Linked DNA regions of Homo sapiens: region 2 is linked to region 1. Evidence: promoter capture Hi-C in 16 types of primary human blood cells and fetal thymus (Javierre and others, 2016). All regions are on one chromosome and are shown on one strand. The core of a region is centred on a gene start or on the middle of the fragment in contact, and the rest is flanking DNA. Distances in the headings are between cores, read along the strand shown. Region 1 holds the start of TSPAN15 (tetraspanin 15). Region 2 holds the start of LOC101928994 (a long non-coding RNA gene).

What was found. The method cuts DNA at HindIII sites, captures the fragments that hold promoters and counts their contacts. A CHiCAGO score of 5 or more calls a contact.
Region 2: a contact is called between a fragment that was not itself captured here and the fragment with the promoter of TSPAN15 in region 1, in 1 of 17 cell types (activated CD4 T cells). The highest score is 5.6, in activated CD4 T cells.

The regions. Positions count from the first base shown.
Region 1 is chr10:69,448,320-69,453,120 of GRCh38, forward strand. TSPAN15 (tetraspanin 15) reads left to right here and starts at 3,146. Exons shown (of 8, transcript NM_012339.5): 1 at 3,146-3,371. The coding sequence starts at 3,276. RefSeq lists enhancers at 1-231, 1,549-2,167, 2,168-2,785, 2,735-2,874, 3,666-4,166 and a silencer at 2,995-3,304. The HindIII fragment of the contact is 1,152 bases long and covers 2,858-4,009 here.
Region 2 is chr10:69,228,844-69,234,364 of GRCh38, forward strand. It overlaps HKDC1 (hexokinase domain containing 1), which reads left to right. Exons shown (of 18, transcript NM_025130.4): 3 at 3,921-4,069; 4 at 4,171-4,290. LOC101928994 (a long non-coding RNA gene) reads right to left here and starts at 3,647. Exons shown (of 5, transcript NR_120648.1): 1 at 3,528-3,647. RefSeq lists enhancers at 376-545, 845-904, 945-994, 2,991-4,190, 3,804-4,529. The HindIII fragment of the contact is 6,469 bases long and covers 1-5,521 here.

The sequences.
Region 1 (4,801 bases), core at 1,896-4,395:
ACACCTGTGTGTCACACTATGCCACACATTCTAACAGTCCTACAAAAAAGTAATGGCAAAACCAGGATTTGCACCAGGCCTGCTGGCCCCTAGGCCAGAGTTCCTGGCTAAAGGAGGAAAAGTGGGAAACAGATGGCCATTTCTTCTGAGGTCTCAGTGTTTGCAAATGTGGTTCAGGAGGAGCCCTAGTGCTTGGGGTCAGGGTCAGGATTGCAGGTGGGGAGGCACAGTGAAGAAGCCCAGCAGCCAGGGAAAGGCTGTGCCAGCCCCAAAGAGCTCCAAGGCTCTTTGTAGGGATGGCTCACCTCGAGGGCTTAGGGAGAGCTGAGAGGGCTTGCTAAGAAGCTTGTGTGTCACCAGGGAATATTTGAAAGATGAGAGAAAATGCAGCTGGCTGGAGAGGCCAGAAGGGAAGAATAGAAGTCCAGGGGCAACTGGGAAGGAAACCTGATGGAGGTGTGTGGCAGTTTCGACTGTAGTTTAAATATGGAGAATGAAAGGGAACTAGGAGGCTAAACTAGCCTTCCAGGGTATGAAGAGGGTTCCAAGCTTCTATGGGTGGGGAAGAGACTAGCACCTCAAATAATGGGTGTGGACTTAGCTCTGCAGGGCTGGGTGGAGGCTCTAGCCCTCAAAGAGGAATAAAAAGTTAGTCTTCCTCCTCAAAGGACAGAAAGGACAACTTTTTTTTTTTTTGGGGACCGAGTCTCGCTCTGTCATCCAGGCTGGAGTGCAGTGGCACGATCTTGACTCATTGCAACCTCTGCTATCCAGGTTCAAGTGATTCTCCTGCCTCAGCCTCCCGAGTAGCTGGGATTACAGGCACCCATCACCATGCCCGGCTAATTTTTGTATTTTTAGTAGAGCCAGGGTTTCACCATGTTGGCCAGGCTGATCTTGAGCTCCTGACCTCGAGTGATCCCCCTGCCTTGGCCTCCCAAAGTGTTGGGATTACAGGTGTGAGCCACCGCGCCCGGCCAGAATGGACAACTTTTAACACTATGGTAAGATGCCTTCTTGGCCCTCAGATAATCATTTGAGGGCAGCTTGCATTACTCTCTGGTTCTCTTTCCACCTTTTCTTTTCCCTGTTGTTTTTTTTTTGAGACAGGGTCTTGCTTTGTTGTCCAGGCTGGAGTGCCGTAGCACAATCATAGCTCACTGCAGCCTTGATCTTTTGGGCTCGAGAAGTGATACCCCCACCTCACCCTCCCAAGTAGCTGGGACTACAGGCACGAGACACCATGCTTGGCTAATTTTTTTGATTTTCAGTGGAGATGAGGTCTTGCTACGTTGCCCAGACTGGTCTGAAACTCCTGGACTCAAGCAAACCTCTCACCTTGGCCTCCCAAAGTGCAGGGATTACAGGCATGAGCCACTGTGCCTGGCTCTGGTTCTATTTCTCTACCCCACACAAACATCCTCCCAAGGTTTGTTTGTTTTGTACCAGGAAATTGGTTTCCTTTTACCCTTCCAGGCATGGCACTGCCTCCCTCCCCACCCCCCAATCTTGCTTTCTTCCTCCTAGGGCAGAGCTCTGGGGGCTAAAGCCAGCCTGGACTAAGTCTCTGAGTCTGTCCTTCTCTGTTGAGTTTGTGTATGCAGGAGCCCTGGGAACCCAGGACTGGGGACTTGTATAAGAGTGTCGTTCCTGAAATCACCACCAGGGACCCCACCCAGCACTGCTAGAGCTTATGACCTCTGCCATGGATTTAATTACTGAAGGCCACAGCAGGGATTGTCTGGCTCCCAAGTCCCAGGCTGAGCTAGGCTTGGGAGACAGGAAACAACAGTGAGTAAAGCTGGGACCATCTAGCATGAGAGACAGGCTCACAGCCACCTCTGGTCCCAGGCTGAGAAAAGGCCAGGTGGGAGGAGGCTGGGTTAGTGGCTGGCTATGTGCAAGAGAGGGAGCTGCCTCCCTCACCTATAGTTTCTGTTTGTTTGTTTTTTGTTTTTTTGAGATGGAGTCTCCCTTTGTCACCCAGGCTGGAGTGCAGTGGCGGGATCTCGGTTCACTGTAACTTCCGCCTCCCGGGTTCAAGCGATTCTCCTGCTTCAGCCTCCCCAGTAGCTGGGACTACAGGCATGCACCACCCTGCCCGGCTAATTTTTTTTGTATTTCTTAGTAGAGACAGGGTTTCACCACGTTGTCCAGGCTAGTCTCGAACTCCTGACCTCAAGTGATCCGCACGCCTTGGCCTCCCAAAGTGTTGGTATTACAGGCGTGAGCCACCGTGCCCGGCCTTGTTTTTGTTTTTGTTTTGGAGAGAGGGTCTCACTCTGTCTCCCAGGCTGGAGTGCACTGGCACAATCACGGCTCACTGCAGCCTTGACTTCCCTGACTCAAGCGATTCTCCCGCCTGTCTCCCAAGTAGCTGGGACAACAGGCGCGCCACCGTGCCTGGCTTTTTATTTTTTTTAATTATAGAGTCGGCGTTTTGCCATGTTGCCCAGGCTGGTCTTGAACTCCTGGGGCTCAAGCCATTCGCCCTCCTCAGCCTCCCAAAGTGCTGGGATTACAGGCGTGAGTCACCGCGCCAGGCCTTCAACCTAGTTTGAAGATGGGGTTTCCCGGGAGGAACCCTTCCCAAGGCTGGGTTATCACCTGGCAAAAGAAGGGGACTTCCGAGGTCGTTTGGTGAAGGCCTTCAGCAGATCTGTTTCACGAGCAAACTTCAGACTCCAGCTCCATGGGGGCCTATTAGCCCCACCCTGGTCTGCCTCCCTGAGCCTTCCTGAGCCGAGCAACTCCACTTCCTTATTCCATTCACGTTTAGCACACTCATTTGCACTTTCAACACCTGGGCGATTAATTCTTGCCCTTTTCCCAAAGTTTTCCCTCTTGACAAGAGGAAAGCTTGCATTTCTATGTACCCCGATTAGGCACGCTCGCTCTCTCCTTAGAGCACCTCTGGTTCACCTCTCCCACGCCCCCTGCATTAGCACAGGCGTTTCCAGAGTTGCACGCGAGCTCATTTGCAAGACCGTCTCCCCCTCCCATCCCTTCTTGGTCCCCTCTAGGGCCCAGGGCAGCAGCCCCGCCCCTGGCCCGCCCCCTCCCAGACGCTAGGCAGCCGCGGCCTCCCATTGGCCGCCAGGGCTGGCAGGCTTCCCGGCTGGGGCTGTGATTGCCGCGCTCCAGTGTCAGTCCCGGAGAGAACGCCGGTGGCGGGGCTGGTAGCCCGGCAGCCGCAGGTGGGGCCACGAGCGCTGGCTGAGGGACCGAGCCGGAGAGCCCCGGAGCCCCCGTAACCCGCGCGGGGAGCGCCCAGGATGCCGCGCGGGGACTCGGAGCAGGTGCGCTACTGCGCGCGCTTCTCCTACCTCTGGCTCAAGTTTTCACTTATCATCTATTCCACCGTGTTCTGGGTGAGTGACCCCAGTAGGGCCCGGGGATGGGGGTGGGGACCCACAATCCGGCCGCCCCCTCACTGGCCCGGGGTTGGGTCCACACTTAGCCGCTCCAGGGAGTGCGCGGGTGAGCGCGCGCGGACTCCTTGTCTTTCTACCTCACATTCGGGCGGCCAGAGCTCAGCCTGAATTTTCAGCCGCCCTTTCGGGAGTGTGAGAGCCGGTTGTCGACCGACCGAGTGCCACCTGGCTCACCTGTGTGCACCGGCTGGGCGGTTTGCCCGCTGTGCGTCCGCTGGCCGGCTGGCTAGGCTGAGGTGAACGCGCTGGCCGCGCCCACCACGCCTACCCGGTAGGACTGACTGCCTCTGCATCGGCCTGTGGAGCTTAAGTAGTTAGGATTTGCAGTCGGGGTTGGGAGACCTGGATTCCGGGTCTGGTCCCTGCTAGTTACTTGCTGATGCCCCTGAGCGAGACGCTTCCCCGCTCCGTCTTGGTTTCCTCTTTGGTGGATGCACGTGCCTCCTGCGTGGCGAGGAGAAGTCCACCAGACGACGTCTCCTGCACACCTAGGTGCTCAGTTTCCGCTGTCGCTGGGCTTTACCTCCTCCTCTGCCTTGTTAGGGGGCAGGATGGTAGTGTTTAGACATGAACCAAGCTTTGAATTCCGTCGCTCCGAGTGGTCTTTTATTTTATATTTTATTTTTTATTTAAAACATTGCTAATCTCTGTATCGTTCCAATTTCAGTTTGTGCGTTTCTGAAATGAGCACTTGCTGAGTGATCTTGGGGAAGTTACTTCATTCCTCTCGGCCATGGTTTCCTCATCTGTAAATGGACACAGTAATTATATTCAACTTGTAGGATGCTCGCGGAGATTACGTGAAATAGGCCGGGTATGGTGCCTAGTGAAGAGCTCAAGAAGTGTGAGACATTATTACTATCGTGGGCAGGGAATTTGGACACCTGTGGTGTAAGCTGCCCCAAGAGATTGGGTTTCTGTAAGGGCGTTTCATATTAGGCTGGGCCCTATTCTAGAGATGAGGATATCTTCCTATAGGCCAGCTCCGCCCCTGTCACTCCAGAATCGCTCTCTGCCTGCAGTATGCCACAAGAGCAGACTTGCCCAGGGACCCAGGGTGGTCACTGACACCCCATTCCCACCAAATACACACACTCTCCCCTGGTGTCCTCCTTAGCCCCTTGCTGGGTCTCTTCTGCTAGCAGGAGCTGCTGGATTTGCCATCAGGACTGGCTTTCCCTGTGACCCCTTTGTGGGTGGGGCCTTGCCTGGTAATCGGAGATCCAGATTCAGCTCTGTTACTGACTTATGGATATCTTAGGCAAGTCACTTTCCTGTTTTGGGCCTCAGAACTGTTCATTGACTTTTCCATCTAGAAGACTAGTCTGAGGCCAGTTTCCAATCCAATTCTCTGACTCTAGGTAATG
Region 2 (5,521 bases), core at 1,283-3,782, 220 kb before region 1:
TGACAGAGCGAGACGCCATCAAAAAAGAAAGAAAGAAAGGAAGAAGAAAGAAAGAAAGAAAGAGAGAGAAAGAAGAAAGAAAGGAAAGAAAGAAGAAAGAGAAAGAAAGAAAGAGAAAGAAGAAAGAAAGAAAGCAAAGAAAAAGAAAGAAAGAAAGAGAGAAAGCTGCCATTTACTGAGCAACCACTGTGGTCATGGGGTGCTGGGGACTCGCTGAGCCACATATTTCCTGTGACAACCCTGTGGTGTGGCTGTTCAGACAGAACCACCAAGGACCAAGGGGTTTCTCCCATGTCAGGGTCCCAGTGCCCAAACCGAGCTCGTGAAAGAGCACTGGGGCTCTCGCAGGAGCAGGGTCTGAGGTTTGGGAGCTCTCAGGGGGCTTTGATGGGATCAGTCGTGTTCTGGACCTCTCTGGAGCAATGCCTGGATCAAGGTAGCTTGGCTCTGCTGGTTGAGAGGCCCTGGGACACTGCACTGGGAAAGGCCCTGTGCCCTCACTTGTGGGTAGGTGCTTGGGATGGACAGTGCCCTGTCCTGGAAGGACGTTGAGCTTCGGAGAGAGACAGCCCTACTTTGAAATCTTGGCTCTGTCCTTGCCACAGCTTGACGAGAGTACTGGGACGTGTCCTTGACAGGGCATCTGGGGCCCCTGGGAGGAAGCAGCTGAGTCATGTGGGGAGCACCAGGGCTAAGTCCGCCTGGCTTCCTGGACTGCAGCCCCTCCTCCTGATACAGACAAGGTGTGTCCCCAGAAGCAAGGGAAGGTGGCCTTTGATGGTCTGGAGGCTCTGGGACAGGCGGTGTCCTCCTGGCCCTGGCTGCTTCTGAAGGTTCAGAAGTGAAACTAACTAAGTCATAGAAACTCTCTCCTCCTTAGCCGGGAAGACGCCCAGCTCCCCATCCCCGTCTCCGCAGAGCCTCTCACCACACAAAGCATCTCACCAGTGATTCTGTTGTGCCGAGGTCCCTGGGCCCAGAGTCCCTAATAAGCCAGGTGTTCTTGGTAAATCCCGGCACCATACATGATTGTCAGGATTTAATGAGATCATGTGGATGGCGTGCTTTAACATCTCTAAAATCTTGTCCCAAGTCCTCCTAGCTCTTGTGAGCTGGTGGTATAATTTCATGATTACCGACAAAAAACAAGCAAAACTCTCCTAATTCCTTATGGTGTCCGTTTCAGAAATGTATGCAGCTTCCAGAGAAGTCCTGAGTTTGCCTACTCCCATCAGGACCTATCTGCGAGGGAGTCACCTGTTTGAGCCTTAGTTACCACCCAGCCTTTTGGTCAGGGGGCTGCAGTGGTCTGTTCTGACAGGATCAAGTGCCTTAAAAGTGCTGTGTTAATACTGGAGCCTTCTCTGCCAGTCATGGAAGGGGCATGGGAAGCATGAGGGTGACTGTGATTCTTTGGCTTGACCCCTGCTGGCTCTGTTCCAGGCCTTAGCCTCCAGTCAGCCTCCAAGGCCAAATAGGCCTTGGGGGTGAGCCCGGGAGCCCTGAGGTCGTCAGCCTGGAGCCTCGAGTGTTTCCTAATACACACTTTCCCAGCCCCTCCCCCTGGGGACTCTGAATCTCCAGGAATCTCCGCATTCAGCCACTGTGCACCTTTGGGAGACTCTGCACTGGGTAAAAGGAGGGAGTGAAGGCACCAGCACCAGCAGTGACTTACGAGAAGGGAACCATTGGGTCCAAGGCAGTTCATGGAGGGTCCTCTGGAGCAGGCAGATTGGCCAAAGCAATTTACCCCGCTTAGGACACTGTTTTCTCTTTTCTTTCTTTTTAGAAACAAGGTCTCCCTCCGTTGCCCAACCTGCAGTGCAATGGAGCCATCATAGATCACTGCAGCCTTGACCTTCTAGGCTCAAGTGATCCTCCTGCTTCAGCCTCCCAAGTAGCTGGGACTACAGGTGCATGCCACTACGCCCAACTGACTTTTTTGTCTTTTGTTTTGTAGAGACAGGGTTTTACCATATTGACCAGGCTGGTGTTGAACTCTTGGCAAGGGATTAATTCTCCTGCCTGGGCCTCCCAAAGTGCTGGGACCACAGGTGTGAGCCACCGTGCCTGGCCGGGGCTGTTTTCTTGATGTCTGTGAAGACTCTGAGGCCCCACAGACTGCTGTTGCCTGGGCAAGTCCTCCCTCTCCCAGGGTCCACTGGTTCCTTTTTTCTGGGGTCAGAGACAGAAGGGATCACACCATGTGGCATCCATGAAATGGCACCTCGAGCCACTGGTGGAGTGAGGTGTTTGATAGTGATTGCGATGCGGGCCGGGAGTGGGATGCCTCCACACCGACACTGGCCAGGTCTCAGCACATCCCCTCCCGTCCGATGGCAGTGCAGCAGCCTCTTCTTTTGTTAAACCCTCAGTCTATTCTGGTTGGTGTCAGAGGCATTTGTCCCCAGAATCTCAGATCTTGGCACTCCCTAGCTTAAAATCTTTCTGCAGCTCCCTCTCACCTTCCAGATAAAGCCCAAGCTCCTTGGGGTGGATAGCTTTTCCAAATCCTTCCAAATTTAACCTGAGAGCCACCTTCCAACCTCATTTCTGTGACAGCTGCCCTCCTTTGGCAAAAGCACACTCACTCTTAGCGGATGCTTTCTCATTCCTTTGCCCGTGGTTCCTCTCCCTGGGACCCCCGCTCCCGGCAGCCTGGCAGCCTGACTCCTGCTCACCCTTCAACACTCAGCTCTGTGTCCCCTCCCTGCAAAGCCAGCTGCCTTTGTCTCCCAGCTTTGACCTGGATATCTCTCCCTGTGCCTCTCACAATCTGAGCACTGGTCCTACTATATGGAAATAGCTGATTTATGCGCCTGTATTTCGGATCAATTTCCCAGGGAGCACACCGTCTTTCATCTGCGCATCCCTAGCACCTAACACATGTTACTCAGCACAGAGTAGATGCTCAGTAAATGTGTGGACATAGATTGTGGGATCTACCCTACCTCCTACACAGCAAGACAGCATCTGGGAGAACCCTCTTACTTGGTGCATAATATATACTAATAAAAGTTGCATAGGATTAACTCCCTGAATTCCCTCACCAAATAATAAATGACTCCATCAGCTCCTTTGTGGCTGATCTGTGAAGGTAAGAATTTCCGGATGTCTACACAAAAACAAAAAATCGAGCTGGCTGCACCTTTGCTACTCTAACTATGGTCTACAGACCAGCAACAGCAGCAACATCACCAAGTTGGCCAGGCTGTTCTTGAACTGCTGACCTCAGGTGATCTGCCCGTCTCGGCCTCCCAAAATGCTGGGATTACAGGCATGAGCCACTGTGCCCAGCCCCCACCTTTCAATTAATGGCATCTGTCTTGGGCTGGGCTGGGTTGTGTTCCAATGTCTCCTTTTGGAGTGGCTCTGGCCTAAAAAAATCAGCATCCTTGGCACCTCAAGGGCCATTGTTTAGTCCCTGTCTCCTCTCCCCTCCAGGAGTGTTTTCCCTCTGCCCATAGGATCATCGGCTGCAGGAGGCTGGCTGCTCCTCGCCGCACATCCTGTCTTCCCCCTCATACCTTTATCCGAGTTTCCCCAGGCTGGGAGCACCAGCTCTCTCTTCCCAGTGATGGCATCCCAGGATGGGCTCCACCGTCGAGGCCACCTCTCATACCACCGCAAGGGCTGTGCTCACATTTGCCCTCTCCAGTTGACATGCACATTCCTACAGCATGAGCCAGTGGGTTGGGCTCAGGCTGCAGAGTCAGGCTGACTTAGTTCACATCTCAGCTCTGCGCCTTACCTCGAGGGCTCTGAGAAATGGCCAGAGTCCTCAGCCTTGGCAAATGAGCATAATGATACCTAGTGGCTGTGATTTGAAGACGTTGATTATATGTCCAACCTCTAATGCAGAGCTTGCCATATCTGTAGTAGACCCTCAATAAATGGAAACTGAATTTGTTTCTTAATAGAAAATGGGGAGTTCCTTTCCCTGGATCTCGGAGGGTCCAAGTTCCGAGTGCTGAAGGTGCAAGTCGCTGAAGAGGGGAAGCGACACGTGCAGATGGAGAGTCAGTTCTACCCAACGCCCAATGAAATCATCCGCGGGAACGGCACAGAGGTACCTGGCAGGTGGCTCCTGTGACCGCAGGGAAGGCGGTGGCATCCGTGTGTGGGGAAACCACACCTTAGCCCATGTACTTTGCTTTCTCTTCTCTGCAGCTGTTTGAATATGTAGCTGACTGTCTGGCAGATTTCATGAAGACCAAAGATTTAAAGCATAAGAAATTGCCCCTTGGCCTAACTTTTTCTTTCCCCTGTCGACAGACTAAACTGGAAGAGGTAAGGCGCGGAGGGAAGCAGCAGTGCAGGAATTGGGGCTTGGGGAATGTGGGCACGGGTGGGAGTCAGGCTGCACGCAGGAGAGAACAGCAGGAGCTTTCTTGTTTGTCTTTTTCTTTTCTTTTTGTTCATGATGAGGTGGCAGCGTGAGGCAGAGAACTTGTTAACGCAATGGCCTTGATTTTATGATTAACGTGGGCACAGCTCGGGGGAGTAGAATGCTTTTCACTAGCTCTCAAACCTTGGTGTGAGGAATTCCTTGGAGGGCTTGTTTTAAGCACAGATTGCTGGGCCTACTGGAATCAGTGGTTCTGCAAGGAGGCCCTAAATTCGCCTCCCTGACAGGTTCCTGGCAGATGTGATGCTGCCTGAGGCCTGCACTTAGGACCACTGACATAGCCAACTAGAAGAAACATGGGAAGGCTGGGGAGTCTCTCCCTGTAGTGAGCCCTCAGGAGGAGGATTAGAATGGGGGCACTGGAGGACCAGGCGCGGTGGCTCACGCCTATAATCCCAGCACTTTGGGAGGCCGAGGCGGGCGGATCATGAGGTCAGGAGATCGAGACCATCCTGGCTAACATGGTGAAACCCCGTCTCTACTAAAAATGCAAAAAATTAGCTGGGTGTGGTGCCGGGCGCCTGTAGTCCCAGCCACTTGGGAGGCTGAGGCAGGAGAATGGCGTGAACCCGGGAGGCGGAGCTTGCAGTGAGCCGAGATTGTGCCACTGCACTCCAGCCTGGGTGACAGAGCAAGACTCCGTCTCAAAAAAAAAAAAAGGAATGGGGGCACTGGAGGAGTGAGAATGTCCTGGAGCAGACACAGAGCCTGGGATACACAGTCTGAACTGTGTCACCAGCTAGGCCGGGGTTCCTGGTAACTCATCTCTGTGTGTCTCAGTTTTCAATCTGTAAGCAGGAGGAAGCTAACCCAATCTTATGTGAATAAAGACAGCAAATAAGGGGACGTTCTGGGGCCAGGTTGGGGGAGTTACTGTCAAGAGTCTAGTCTCCCCGGGCCACTCCTGTCTGGGTTGGGGACCCTGATCAATCTCCTCCTCCTGGCCCTCCTGGTTATGATGCCCAGTTGACAGTCACATGGACCTCCTTGGGATGTGCTTGATATTGTTGGCTTGAGTCACTTATTGGTGTGGAATAGTGAAAGGGAATGAGCTTTCATGTTCCACACACATGGCTTTGAATCATGGTTCAGGACAAATTGTGTCCCCTTGGA